Linked DNA regions of Homo sapiens: regions 2, 3, 4 and 5 are each linked to region 1. Evidence: promoter capture Hi-C in human tissues and cell types (Jung and others, 2019). All regions are on one chromosome and are shown on one strand. The core of a region is centred on a gene start or on the middle of the fragment in contact, and the rest is flanking DNA. Distances in the headings are between cores, read along the strand shown. Region 1 holds the start of KDM4B (lysine demethylase 4B). Region 2 holds the start of HSD11B1L (hydroxysteroid 11-beta dehydrogenase 1 like). Region 3 overlaps CHAF1A (chromatin assembly factor 1 subunit A). Region 4 has its middle 18 kb from the start of TINCR. Region 5 overlaps SAFB2 (scaffold attachment factor B2).

Region 1 (2,700 bases), core at 158-2,657:
TCTGGACCTCAGGTGTTCCACCCGACTCGACCTCCCAAAGTGCTGGGATTACAGGTGTGAGTCGCCCGAGCCACAGCACCGGGCCTGGCCTCCTTTTCAATTGCTACATAGTAAGTATTCCAGAGTACTGATTGCTATTAAGTTACTTCTCTAATCCCCCACTGATGGATAGTTAGTGCAAAACATTGGAAACAGTTGCAGACAGCCCTGCCGCCGGCATTCTTGAATTGTGTAAGCTCCAGACCTTTTTTCTGGGTACATCACCTCCAGGAAGAACTGCTGGCTGGGTTATCGGGTGGTGGATGCACTTAGAATGTTATTAGAAAATGTCAAATTGCCCAATTTACACTCCTGCCACTCCAAATGGGGGCATGCCTCACACCCCTGCGTGGTCCAGTACACAATGAATGCTCATTTTGTGAAGTCACAGGGTCAAATCTTTCTCCGTGCCTCATCCCACTTAATCCTTGCAACATTCTCAAGAGGCGGGTAGACGGGGTGTGGCCACTACCATCATATCCATTGCACAGTTGGAAACAGACTCAGCGAGGTTACTTTGCTGGAGGTCAACCACAGTGAGGCATGGGGCCCGGCTTAGCTTTGAATCCAGGTCAGAAAGCACCAAAGCTCATTCTCTCCCATACATTTTAGGGAACTCGGGGAGAGGGACCCTAACTATTCCGAAGGCCTTGCCCCTTGGCAAAGGTTTGTTGATTGTGATGGGAATAGACCTACGGTGGCGGGGTGGAGGCTCTTGCTGCTTTACCCTATGTTCTCGGTTCTCCTCCTTTGCAAAACGGATCGCTATGTCTCCTTGCTTGGCACTTTGCAAATTGGGGAACGCTAAGCCCACATTCCGGCCACGGGTTTCGAACCTCCAGCCTGCACGTTCCCGGCCGGTGCTGATGCTGTGCTGGGTCTCACGTACTCAGCCGCCGCCTGATAACCAGGGCGGGGCCCGGAGCTTGCGGGCAGTGATTGGCACCTGCCCCAGCCTGTCCGCGCCTCGGGCTGGCCCCTCAAGCCAATACTGGCTCCTCTCTGTGCGGTCGTCGGGCGGGCCCTGAGGCTCCCTTGTCAATCCAAGGCCCAGCTGCCGTCGGGTTGGTCGCGGCAGCCTTGGCTGGCGTGCGCCCCCTCCAATGAGAACAGAGCCGGTCAGCGGGCACGTGGGTGGGCGCCGGCGTGTCCCCGCCGGTCTGCCAATGAAGAGGCGAGGCCGGCGTTTGTCCCCGCCCAATCGCGGCGCGCGGTGGGCGGGCCGTGCGGTGTTGATGGGCCCGGCGGAGGGGAGGGGCGGAGCTGTCAGCTCCGGCCAATGGGCGCTCGGGCGTGGATCCGGCAGCCAATGGCAGTCGGGGCGGAGCTGGCGCGCGGCCTTATAAGCCCCCCCGCGAGCGCTTGCGGAGGGCTCGGTCGCCAGCAACCGAGCGGGGCCCGGCCCGAGCGGGGCCTGGGGGTGCGACGCCGAGGGCGGGGGAGAGCGCGCCGCTGCTCCCGGACCGGGCCGCGCACGCCGCCTCAGGTGAGCCCACGGGGAGGCCGCCCGGCCGTGTCCGAGCGCGGACCCCGCCGCCATGGCCGCCCCCGCGTCGCGGCTCGGGGCTGCGGGCGCGCCCGGGACTCGAGGCCCAGGCCTCGGGCGCGGCCTGCTCGGGCCGGGCCTCGCGCTTTGTCCGGGCCGGCGGGGCGGTTGGGGCGTTAACCGCCCGGCCCGGGGGCGCCCGCTGGTTTTCGGGCGGGGGCGGCGGGGCCGGACAATGGCGGGGCGCGCCCAGGGGCGGGAGCGGGGGCCCCTTCCCGGGCCGGGGGCGCGCGGGGGCTGGGCACAGACGGCCCCGGCGCCCCGCACAAAAGATGACAGCGTGGGTGGCCCCGGCCGGGCCCTTTTATCACCCGGGACAAGCCTCGGCCTATTATTATTATTATTTTTGAAAGAAAGCAAGAAAAAGGAAAAAGACCCCAGCCCCTGGGTAACCCCCGCCTGCGTTTCTGGCCCTTTGGGCGCCAGGGGGGCTAAGGGGAAGCCCCCCAGCTGGACACCCAGGGATGCCCCCTAAATGCCTATCATTGCTCCTGCACTGCCCCCACCTCCGGTCAACCTGCTATGCCTTGGTAGCTTCCAAACTTGCCCCCCTGTACGTACCCGAAACCCCCACCCCGCCATAAGCATATGCAATCTGGATTTTAGAAAAAAATCATCTTGCTATGCAACGGCAGCCTCCACGAGTCTCTCCGTCCCTCCCCCTTCCAGCCTGATCGCCATCTCGAACGAAGCCCCTGCTCTAGAGAAATGAATTGAGGAGTTGCTTCCGCCGAGACCCCTTTTCTGTGTCCCCCGTGGACATCCCCCTGGGAGCTGGGGACGGACTCGCTCTGAAATCTGCTTGACCTGGGGTCTGCCAGGGCCCAGGTCTGCGCTCAGTGGTGGCCATGACAATCAGGCAGGACGGGGGACTCTGTCCACCTGGGCACGGTGGAAGGTTTTAAGGGGCATGTTTTCCGCCCCTGGGGGCAGTGGAGGCATGGACTGCTTTTGGGTGCATCCCATCTGTTTGCTTGGGGGAGGATGCTTCTGTTTTAATAATTTACCAGCACCCTGTGAGGAAGTGTTCCCCGAGTTGTGAAACTAGTGAGAAGGTGGTTCAGCTCCGTGGAGCCTAGTGATCCTGTCATATGTGAAGAGCGTCTTTTTCCATG
Region 2 (2,700 bases), core at 27-2,526, 710 kb after region 1:
CTTGATGAGGAACCTGCGGGCAGGGACGGGAGGAGCAGAAGCTCAGCGGACACTGACAGCCACCCTCAGGGGCCAAGGCCCACGGGGAGAGTGAGACCCTCCTGAGGGCTCACCGTCCACAGGGTGACACTCTGTAGTGCAGCACCGTCGACCCAGACCCCTATTATATACAGCACTCGTTTTACAACGTGCAAGGCAGGGCGGCTGGACGCCACTTGAACTGATGAACTGAAACCCAGAGGGGGAGAGTGGGTCACTCAAAGTCCCACAGTGAGCAGGGGCAGTGAAGACGTAAGATCTTGACCTTCTAGAAGCCTTCCAGCCCTGGAGAAACCAAGTGTCCCTGGGCGCCTCCTGCCCGCTGTCACTCGCAGCTCCGAGCACGCATTCACTTCTCATCCACGCCAGCGGCAGGATTCACCGGCATTCCCACCTCACAGAGAAGACAACTGAGGCTCGGAGGCGGAGGCTGACACCGCGAACTGAACGCCAAGGGCTCGCTGGGAAGCAGGAGGGAGGGGATTGGCGACCTCGGGAAGCCCCGCCCCTCTGAAGCCTCAGTTTCCCTATCTGGCCCATAGGCGGGGAACGAAGGGGAAGTGACTCTAAGGGAAGCGAAGAGCAGATCGGGACCAGACTGGAGACAGGGATGCCCACAAAAATGGACTTTTTCGGGGACTCGGGTCCCCTCCGGCGCCCCCACGCACCTCATCAGCGACCACACCCGGGCCACCATGGTCGCTCGGATCCACGCGCAAGGACACTCGGCTCGCCCGCCGCTTCCTGTCGCGGCGCCGCAGAGGCCTCTGGAAGGTGTAGTCTTTCTTGCCCGACGCAAGGTCCTCTGGGAGTCGTGGTGTCTTGCGGCTCTGAGACTCCAGAGAAGGGCTGCGGTCTCGCAGCGGAGGGCCGCTGGGAAATGGACGCTTTAAGGCCCGGGCCGCCGCAAGGCTGTCTGGGAAATGTAGTCAGCACGGCGCTGTTTGCACCTGGCCGCGGAGCCTCCTGGGAAATGTAGTTCGGCCCGGCCCTGGCACCGTGAGGGGAAAGAGGCGTCAGGTGCCTGGCTGAAGCCTGAAGGTGACCCGAAAACAAGTCAGAGCCCGAGAGATCCACCCGCGCCCGCGCGGGGGACCAAGGGCCCGGATTTAAGAAGAGTGTGCCTACAAGGCGGTTGTCACGGCAACGAGAGGGCGGGATTGTTCGAGCGCTGCGGCCCCCTCACGTGATCGATTCGGAGGCGGGGCGTCCGCCCAGTGGGCGGGGCCGGGCCCCTGCTGGGAGGCGAAGACCAGGCGGGCACTGTTGCCCGGCGACGCTCCGGCGCTGGGTCCCCGAGGCCCGGCCCCTCCCCGGGAGGAGGTGGGCTTCGAGTCACGTGACCCGTGCCCTACGGGAGGGGGTGCGGTCGGGGACCCGGCAGGAGGCGGCCGAGAAGAGAGGACCGTGGGGGCGTTCGCGTGGCTCCCAGCCCGGGACCCCACCCCCGCTGGACAGTGGGGGAAACTGAGGCCTGAGCGGGTGAGTGCACGGTTTAGGGGTGCGCAGAGGGTCACACGCCCGCTTTGTTCAGAGGGGAAGCTAAGGCCCGCCGAGGTCAAGAAGGGGCCGATGCGTTCTGCAGGGCTTCCCCCCATTTCTCCCGCATTTCGGCCGGGCTGCTTCAACCGTTCATCTGCCCATCCATCCATCTGTCCCCCACCCGTCTATCCATCTGGCCATCCACCCATCTATCCTTCCATCTATCCATCCACACTTCCGTTCATCCATCTGTCCGCCCATCCATTCATCCATCTGCTCCCCCCATCCTTCCACTCATCCATCTGTCCACCCATCCATCTATTTATCTGGCCACCCACTCATCTATCCGTCCATCCATCCATCCATCCATCCATCCATCCATGCATCCGTCCGTCCATCCATCCATCCATCCATCCATCCATTTATGTGTTCCCATTTATCCATTCATACATCCATCCACTCATCCATCTATCCACCCATACATCTCTCCGTCCATCATCCATCCATCCACCCATCCATCTATTCATCTGGCCATCCACCCATCCATCCTTCTATCTATGCATCCATACATGCATCTGTCCATCTATCCATTCATCCATCCACCCATCCGTCCACCCGTCAGTCCATCTGGTCCCACTTCCCCCTGCCGGGCTGCTGCAGTCAGTGTAGAGCTGGGGGTGGAAAGAGGGATGAGCAGAGGAGCTTCATGGGCTGTCCCTGGAAGGGGAAAAGGTGGAAGCTCGTTTCTTGCTGTGGGCATGCCTGGTGTGTCTGGGAAAGGTGAGGAGTTCATTATTTTGAGAACTGAACGATTCATAGATGGGGCCGTGGGAGAGAAGGATAGACAGGTAGTCAGGGGCTATACCTGCAGGGCCTCATGGGGTGCAGTGAGGAGCCTGGTTTCCATCAGTTGCAGTGGGGACCCCTGAGAGGGTTTGGAGCAGGAAGGGCCATGGCCATGTTGCTTTTGACACAGACGCCTTTGGCTGCATTGACAGAAGAGGCAGGGAGAGAATGAGTATGGACATGGGGAAGCCAGTGTGGAGGTGGGGGAGACCAAATCGGAGATGGAAGGGAGGCCAAAGGAAAGATGGGGGTGGTCAGGCCCGGGGTAGGGTCTAGGAGGGAGGTGACAATCTGGGAGTCCTGGAGAGAGAGAGGAAGGGACAGCTGGGGAGA
Region 3 (2,700 bases), core at 112-2,611, 550 kb before region 1:
CTTGCACTCTCTCATGCTTGGGCCAATTGGAGGTTTTCTCTTTTCCCCCCTGCCTCCGCTCCCCTGCTGTCAGGTTTTAGCGGCTTATCTGGTCTGGGCTTAGAAATTAGATACCCTTTAGTATAAAATCAGAGTCCATAGGCTCTGAGAGGATTATCTGAGAAAGGGTGCAGGAATTTTCATGCCCACACATAGTGAGCTCTGTCGCGACTCCTTGGGATTGTCGGTTTTTGTGTTTTGGCTTCCTTCTGGGATCCTGGATCACGTTTTTGGCAGTTGAGGGTGCTGTCTGACCGGGCTCCAGCTGGGTAGAATGTGGGAGTGTTGCATAGAATTTTGAGAGTGAGATCTATAAACACTTGGGTCAAATTTCAAGAAGATAAAGTTCTGTCAGACTTCAAGGTCCATCTGAGGGTTTGGCAAAGCAAAAAAGATACCAGTTTTAAATTAAGCAGTAATTGCTCTGTTTTGGTTGTTGGATATTACTGAGCGGGCTCTTGCCAGTCACATCAAGTCTGTTATCTCTGGACTCACAGCAGAGGGGGGGCATTGTAAGAGGCAGGAGATTCTGCAGCTGAGCTTCAGGCATGGGCAAGACTAAGGAACTGAATTCCCCGCCACCCCAAGACCACATTCCGTATTATAATCTCTGAACACAAAGGGCAGCCCCGGAGAGCTGCGGCTCCCATATTCTGCAGTTAAATCCCTCAGCGTGGGGGAGAGGCACACAGCCTTGGCAGGCAGAGTAGATGCTGGAGAGACAGATGCTTTTTCTGCAGCATTTGGTGAGGCTGCCTCGGGCTGGCATTTCTGTTGCCACATTCTCAGCAAAGACTGAACACCCTGGCCTGATCTCGGTGGTGAAAGAGCTCCTGCCAACACGGGCAGCCTTCTCACAACGGCTCGGCCTTTCCCTAAAGAAAGGTTTAGTCCAGAAAGGACTCAGTGGGACCCAGGTGGAAAGGCTGTCTTGAGCTCATTCATCTGAAGCTTTTATTCTGTGAGAGGTCCTAGTCAGGGGTTCAGCTTTCCCAGATAAAGAAATCACTGTTGGCCGGGCGCGGTGGCTCACGCCTTTAATCCCAGCACTTTGGGAGGCCGAGGCGGGCGGATCACGAGGTCAGGAGATCGAGACCATCCTGGCTAACATGGTGAAACCCCATCTCTACTAAAAATACAAAAAAATTACCCAGGCATGGTGGTGGGCACCTATAGTCCCAGCTACTGGGCAGACTGAGGCAGGAGAATCGCTTGAACCCGGGAGGCGGAGCTTGCAGTGATCCGAGATGGCGCCACTGCACTCCAGCCTGGGCGACAGAGCGAGACTCCGTCTCAAAAAAAAAAAGAAATCACTTACATAATTTTGTTGACCCCTCAGACCATTGCCAGGAAAATGGGCCTTTGGTTTTTCAGTCAACTTCAGTCTTACACTGCAAGTCTGCAATGAACCCGGAGAACTATTTCTTCCCACTCTTAAGCGTCTCTTCCCATTGCTCTTCACTTCTACTAGTTTGGTTTTCAGGATTCCCTGCCCCGGTGGGAGATAGCTTAGGCCAAAGTCCAGACTCCCTGTTCGTCTTCCTTCCTGGGACCATTTAGGTGGATGGTGAGTCACACCATGGATCCTATTGGTAATTCCTAGTAGCTCATGCTCAGTTTGAAGGTAGGTGATAGAAAATATTGTGCCCTAGAAGGTAGAAGTCCTAGAAAACCCCAGCAAGTTTCCCTTTTGTCTTAAGCTTTCACTCCACATTCTAAAAAGCAGAGTTGGCTGGGCGCGGTGGCTCACGCCTGAATTCCTAGCACTTTGGGAGGCGAGGCGGGTGGATCACCTGAGGTCAGGAGTTCGAGACCAGCCTGGCCAACATGATGAAACCCCTATCTCCACTAAAAATACAAAAATTAGCCAGGTGTGGTGGCACACGCCTATAATCCCAGCTACTCAAGAAGCTGAGGCAGGAGAATCGCTTGAACTTGGGAGGTAGAGGTTGCAGTGAGCCGAGATCGTGGCACTCGCTGCACTCCAGCCTCTGTGACAGGAGTAAGACTCCATCTCAAAAATAACATTAAAATAAAAAGCAGAGTTGAGCTAGACAGAATGTAAATTAGTGGTGCACAGGAAACCAGCCTGGAGACATGTTTTATTTGATTAATTTAGTATCTTTTTATTTTTTTTTTAGACAGTCTCACTCTGTCACCCAGGTTGGACAGCTCAGTGCAGCCTCAACCTCCCGGGCTCCTCCCACCCCAGACTCCTGGGTAGCTAGGACTACAGATGTGCACCACAACACCCGACTAACTAAAAGCTTTTTTTAGAGACAGGGTCTTGCTTTATTGCCCAGGCTGGTCTTGAACTCCTGGGCTCAAGTGATCCTCCCGCCTTGACCTCCCAAAGTGCTGGGATTACAGGCATGAGCCACTGTGCCCGTCTGTGTCCATTTTTAAACACCTAAAAAAATTCATATGAAATTCCTAATATCAGCTTCTCTTGGAGAAATTGGAAGGACCAGCAAATAGGGATCTATATTCCTGTAAGAACTCCATCTCCTTTGGACAGGCAGGTCCTCTCTCCTTTGCTACAAATCCATCCTCTCCCTGTCGCCCAGGCCAGCTGTCGCTTTTTTTTTTTTTTTTTTTTTAAGACAGAGTCTCACCCTGTTGCCCAGGCAGGAGTATGGTGGCGCAATCTCGGCTCACTGC
Region 4 (2,700 bases), core at 185-2,684, 580 kb after region 1:
TGCCCGGGCTGGTCTTGAACTCCTGAGCTCCAGTGATGCCTGCCTTGGCCTCCCAAATTACTGGGATTAAAGGCGTGAGCTACAGCATTTATTAGATACCTACTGTCAGGCCTCTGAGCCCAGGCCAGGCCATCGCATCCCCTGTGACTGGCACGTATACATCCAGATGGCCTGAAGTAACTGAAGATCCACAAAAGAAGTAAAAACAGCCTTAACTGATGACATTCCACCATTGTGATTTGTTCCTGCCCCACCCTAACTGATCAATGTACTTTGTAGTCTCCCCCACCCTTAAGAAGGTTCTTTGTAATTCTCCCCACCCTTGAGAATGTACTTTGTGAGATCCACCCCTGCCCACCAGAGAGCAACCCCCTTTGACTGTAATTTTCCATTACCTTCCCAAATCCTATAAAACGGCCCCACCCGTATCTCCCTTCGCTGACTCTCTTTTCGGACTCAGCCGGCCTGCACCCAGGTGAAATAAACAGCCATGCTTCTCACACAAAGCCTGTTTGGTGGTCTCTTCACACAGACGCGCATGAAATTTGGTGCCGTGACTCGGATCGGGGGACCTCCCTTGGGAGGTCAATCCCCTGTCCTCCTGCTCTTTGCTCCGTGAGAAAGATCCACCTACCACCTCAGGTCCTCAGTCCAACCAGCCCAGGAAACATCCCACCAATTTCAAATCCGGTAAGCGGCCTCTTTTTACTCTCTTCTCCAACCTCCCTCACTATCCCTCAACCTCTTTCTCCTTTCAATCTTGGCGCCACATTTCAATCTCTCCCTTCTCTTAATTTCAATTCCTTTCATTTTCTGGTAGAGACAAAAGAGACATGTTTTATCCGTGAACCCAAAACTCCGGCGCCGGTCACGGACTGGGAAGGCAGCCTTCCCTTGGTGTTTAATCATTGCAGGGACGCCTCTCTGATTATACACTCACGTTTCAAGGGTGTCAGACCACGCAGGGACGCCCGCCTTGGTCCTTCACCCTTAGTGGCAAGTCCCGCTTTCCTGGGGCAGGGGCAAGTACCCCTCAACCCCTTCTCCTTCACCCTCAGTGGCAAGTCCCGCTTTCCTAGGGGGCAAGAAACCCCCAATCGCTTATTTCCGCACCCCAACCTCTTATATCTCTGCACCCCAATCCCTTATTTCCACACCCTGACCTCTTTGTGCCCCAATCCCTTACTTCCGTGCCCCAACCCCTTCTCTGCTTTTCTGGAGGGCGAGAACCCCCCACCCCTTCTCCGTGTCTCTACTCTTTTTTCTGGGCTTGCCTCCTTCACTATGGGTAAGCTTCCACCTTCCATTCCTCCTCCTTCTCCTTTAGCCTGTGTTCTCAAAAACTTAAAACCTCTTCAACTCACACCTGACCTAAAACCTAAATGCCTTATTTTCTTCTGCAATGCCGCTTGACTCCAATACAAGCTCGACAGTAGTTCCAAATAGCCGGAAAACGGCACTTTCAATTTTTCCATCCTACAAGATCTAAATAATTCTTGTCGTAAAATGGGCAAATGGTCTGAGGTGCCTGAAGTCCATCAGTCCCTTCCTACTCTCTGTGCCCAGTGCAACTCGTCCCAAATCTTCCTTCTTTCCCTCCCACCTGTCCCCTCAGTCCCAACCCCAAGCGTCGCTGAGTCTTTCTCATCTTCCTTTTCTACAGACCCATCTGACCTCTCCCCTCCTCGCCAGCCCAAGCTAAGTCCCAATTCTTCCTCAGCCTCTGCTCCTGCATCCTGTCATTTTTTTATCGCCTCCCCTCCTCACACCTGGTCCGGCTTACAGTTTCGTTCCGTGACTAGCCCTCCCCCTCCTGCCCAGCAATTTACTCTTAAAAAGGTGGCTGGAGCCAAAGGCATAGTCGAGGTTAATGCTCCTTTTTCTTTATCCCAAATCAGAAGCGTTTAGGCTCTTTTTCATCAAATATAAAAACCCAGCCCAGTTCATGACTTGTTTGGCAGTAACCCTGAGACACTTTACAGCCCTAGACCCTAAAAAGTCAAAAGGCCGTCTTATTCTCAAAATATATTTTATTACCCAATCTGCTCCCGACATTAAATAAAACTCCAAAAATTAAATTCCGGCCCTCAAACCCCACAACAGGACTTAATGAACCTCGCCTTCAAGGTGTACAATAATAGAAAAAAGTTGCAATTCCTTGCCTCCACTGTGAGACAAACCCCAGCCACATCTCCAGCACACAAGAACTTCCAAATGCCTGAACCGCAGCGGCCAGGCGTTCCTCCAGAACCTCCTCCCCCAGGAGCTTGCTACACGTGCCGGAAATCTGGCCACTGGGCCAAGGAATGCCCGCTGCCCGGGATTCCTCCTAAGCCGCGTCCCATCTGTGTGGGACCCCACTGAAAATCGGACTGTTCAACTCACCTGGCAGCCACTCCCAGAGCCCCTGGAACTCTGGCCCAAGGCTCTCTGACTGACTCCTTCCCAGATCTTCTCGGCTTAGCGGCTGAAGACTGACGCTGCCCGATCGCCTCGGAAGCCCCGTAGACCATCACGGACGCCGAGCTTCGGGTAACTCTCACAGTGGAAGGTAAGTCCGTCCCCTTCTTAATCAATACGGAGGCTACCCACTCCACATTATCTTCTTTTCAAGGGCCTGTTTCCCTTGCCTCCATAACTGTTGTGGGTATTGACGGCCAGGCTTCAAAACCCCTGAAAACTCCCCCACTCTGGTGCCAA
Region 5 (2,700 bases), core at 100-2,599, 630 kb after region 1:
ACTGCACTCCAGCCTGGGTGACAGAGCGAGACTCTGTCTCAAAAAAAAAAAAAAAAAAAAAAAAAAATCTTAAGTCCATCACCCAGTTAAGAGCCATGGGGCTCCGAGCAAACTTCATAGGTTGAATCCCAGCCTTGCCGTTTCCCAGCAAACTCAGGCAGGGCGCGCTCCCCTCTCTAGGCCTGTATCCTCTCCTACATAGAGCAAGTGCCTCACAGGGCTACTACAAGGACCAAGGAAACTGCTGCATTCCCAGTGCTGGCCACAGGACCACACCATACTGTTAGCTAATTATTACCGCCTTTCCCACAAATACAGAAAAACAATTAATGAAACACGCAAGATACCAAGAACACCGCAAACCTGCAACAACAGTTCCCCATCTTCCACCAATACAGACATTTTTTTCTTAGCAATGCTGATGGGATGTGTCTTTTTGAAGTTGCTGATTAAATTAGAGGGCTCACCGCCCCCCCCACCCCCCTCCTCCAAGTTCATGAAGGCTCATCTGACACTCATTACTCAGGGGCCTACTGATTTCAATCTGGGGCCAGGTGCAGTGGCTCACACCTATAATCCCAGTCTTTTGTGGGGCCAAGGTGGGAAAATTGCTTGAGGCCAGGGTGGAAACCAACCTGAGCAAAAGAGCAAGACCCTGTCTCTATCAAAAATTTAAAAATTACCTGGGAGTGGTAGCCCACACCTGTAGCCCCAGCTACTAGGGAGGCTGAGGTGGGAGGTTCACTTGGGCTTGGGAAGTCGAGGCTGTAATGAGCCATGACTGCATCAATGCACTCCAGCCTGGGTGACCCGTCTCAAAAAGTAAAATGTTTTTTAAAAATAATAATTCCAATTAAAAATAATAATTCCAATTTGGCCATGATGTAAATTGGTAATTACATCTTCAAAAACCCAGTTCAACTATGTCCACAGACATGTTTACCCTCTAAACTGCGTTGACAACGTAAACTTAAGGCAGACACTCAGCCTTCTGAGACACTGCCATGATCAGATACAACACGGAAATCTACCTTCTCAAAAGAGAAGCCTACAATTGTGTTAAAAATATAAACAACCCACACCTCCCTTGAAAGATCTGTCCCTACCTCCATTTTGATTAAAGATATAAATCACCCCTTTATAAAAATAGAACCTCAGACCCATGGTTCCCAACTACTACGCCAAGGTACGCCAAGGTACCCCAAGGTGCCACCGTGAACTCACAGGGTGCCACCGTGAACTCACAGGGTGCCACCGTGAGAACTCACAGGGTGGCACTGTGAACTCACAGGGTGCCTTGGAATATTTTTAATTTTGAGGTAAACACAGCAATGCTTTTGCCATCTGTCAGACACAGCACCAACTGCTCACTCAAGGTCATTCACTGCAACACTAGACCAGGCTAAATTCCTTTGGATGATGCTTTATCTTTGAAAAACTGGGTGTATGACAGTTGCTGTGATTAATAAGTGAGAACTGCATGAAAATCAACGTGGATGAGGAAATGATTCCAAGGTCTGAGAGGCTGTACAAGGGACCAGAATATGGAAAATGACATTTTGTGTATACTGTTTTTTCAAAAGGCTAATCAGTTATCAGGAAACAAATACATGCTGAGGATCAACTGTATCCACTTCTTAAAGACATGGGCTACTTCGTTAAATAGCTTTACACAGAAAGCTGAAGACTGGCAGGGCGTGGTGGCTCACACCTGTAATCCTAGCACTTTGAGAGGCCAAGGCGGGCAAATCATGTGAACTCAGGAGTTTGAGACCAGCCTTGGTAACATGGCGAAACCGCGTCTCTATAAAAAGTAGCCTGGCTGGGTGGTGTACGCCTGCAGTAGTCCCAGTTACTTGGGAGGCTGAAGTAGGAGAATCACTTGAACCCGGAAGGTGGAGGCTGCAGTGCCACTGCACTCCAGCCTAGGCAACAGAGTGAGTCCCTGTCTCCAAAAAATAAATAAATAAAAGCTGAATATTAAAGTGGCAGCAGAACACAAAAATCAGCTGAGACTCCAGCAGGAAGCTGGCAAGGCTGCGTGGGTACAGGTGGGGACAGATGCGTGTTTTTCAAGGCCCATGGTGGCTGCCCGTGCCCTCCTCCCAGGGATTCCAAGAGGAGGTTTGAAAATTCACTTTACTTTTCAATTTTGATCTCCACAGAATGATGTCTGTCGACACTCGATAATTTTTCCTTCTTCACTTCGCACTCTTTTCTGTCGGAAAGCTTTTTCCCAGCAGGCTCATTTTTGGCCTAAAATATAATAGACAGAAATGATGTGTGGCCCAGAGCTTCTCACTTGCAAACTCCATTTGCGAGTTACCATAGACGAGAACTGCCTCACCTTCTCTACGGAGATCATTCGTCCATGCAGCTCAGTTCTGTGGAGATGGCTGATGCACTTGGTCGCCTCGTCAGATGTCGACATGGTGACGAATCCATAGCATCGAGCCCCCGGGCTGCGGGCGTTCGTTACCACTTTGGCCCCGACAACCTTCATGAAAAAGGGCACTCTTACTCTCTCATACAAATGACCACACAACTTGCTAAAGTTATTACCTGGCAATCAGAATCATTTTCACTATTTGTCACCTCTCCCCATATGGTAGTTTTCCATTTTAGTTACTGAATTGGTTCTAATTAATCCTGACCTATCCAAATACAATTGCTTTTTTTTTTTTTGAGACAGTTTCGCTC

What was found. The method cuts DNA at HindIII sites, captures the fragments that hold promoters and counts their contacts. A contact is called where the count stands out against the background at its distance.
Region 2: a contact is called between the fragment with the promoter of HSD11B1L here and the fragment with the promoter of KDM4B in region 1, in 1 of the 25 tissues and cell types used here (dorsolateral prefrontal cortex).
Region 3: a contact is called between a fragment that was not itself captured here and the fragment with the promoter of KDM4B in region 1, in 1 of the 25 tissues and cell types used here (dorsolateral prefrontal cortex).
Region 4: a contact is called between a fragment that was not itself captured here and the fragment with the promoter of KDM4B in region 1, in 1 of the 25 tissues and cell types used here (dorsolateral prefrontal cortex).
Region 5: a fragment that was not itself captured here is called in contact with the fragment with the promoter of KDM4B in region 1 in 1 of the 25 tissues and cell types used here (dorsolateral prefrontal cortex).

Annotation. Positions count from the first base shown.
Region 1 is chr19:4,967,706-4,970,405 of GRCh38, forward strand. KDM4B (lysine demethylase 4B) reads left to right here and starts at 1,408. Exons shown (of 23, transcript NM_015015.3): 1 at 1,408-1,525. RefSeq lists silencers at 872-971, 1,282-1,581. The HindIII fragment of the contact is 14,440 bases long and covers 1-2,700 here.
Region 2 is chr19:5,679,751-5,682,450 of GRCh38, forward strand. It overlaps HSD11B1L (hydroxysteroid 11-beta dehydrogenase 1 like), which reads left to right and starts at 1,277. Exons shown (of 8, transcript NM_198706.3): 1 at 1,277-1,521. It overlaps MICOS13 (mitochondrial contact site and cristae organizing system subunit 13), which reads right to left and starts at 766. Exons shown (of 4, transcript NM_205767.3): 1 at 708-766; 2 at 1-13. The coding sequence starts at 736. RefSeq lists enhancers at 375-484, 515-594, 615-714, 725-1,194 and a silencer at 1,245-1,454. The HindIII fragment of the contact is 40,206 bases long and covers 1-2,700 here.
Region 3 is chr19:4,414,840-4,417,539 of GRCh38, forward strand. The region is part of intron 3 of CHAF1A (chromatin assembly factor 1 subunit A); the gene reads left to right. Among named protein-coding and RNA genes, the nearest start is that of CHAF1A, 14 kb to the left of the region's middle. The HindIII fragment of the contact is 3,051 bases long and covers 1-2,700 here.
Region 4 is chr19:5,548,473-5,551,172 of GRCh38, forward strand. No RefSeq gene overlaps it. Among named protein-coding and RNA genes, the nearest start is that of TINCR, 18 kb to the right of the region's middle. The HindIII fragment of the contact is 3,354 bases long and covers 1-2,700 here.
Region 5 is chr19:5,602,440-5,605,139 of GRCh38, forward strand. SAFB2 (scaffold attachment factor B2) reads right to left here. Exons shown (of 21, transcript NM_014649.3): 10 at 2,348-2,497; 11 at 2,144-2,256. Among named protein-coding and RNA genes, the nearest start is that of SAFB2, 19 kb to the right of the region's middle. The HindIII fragment of the contact is 4,913 bases long and covers 1-2,700 here.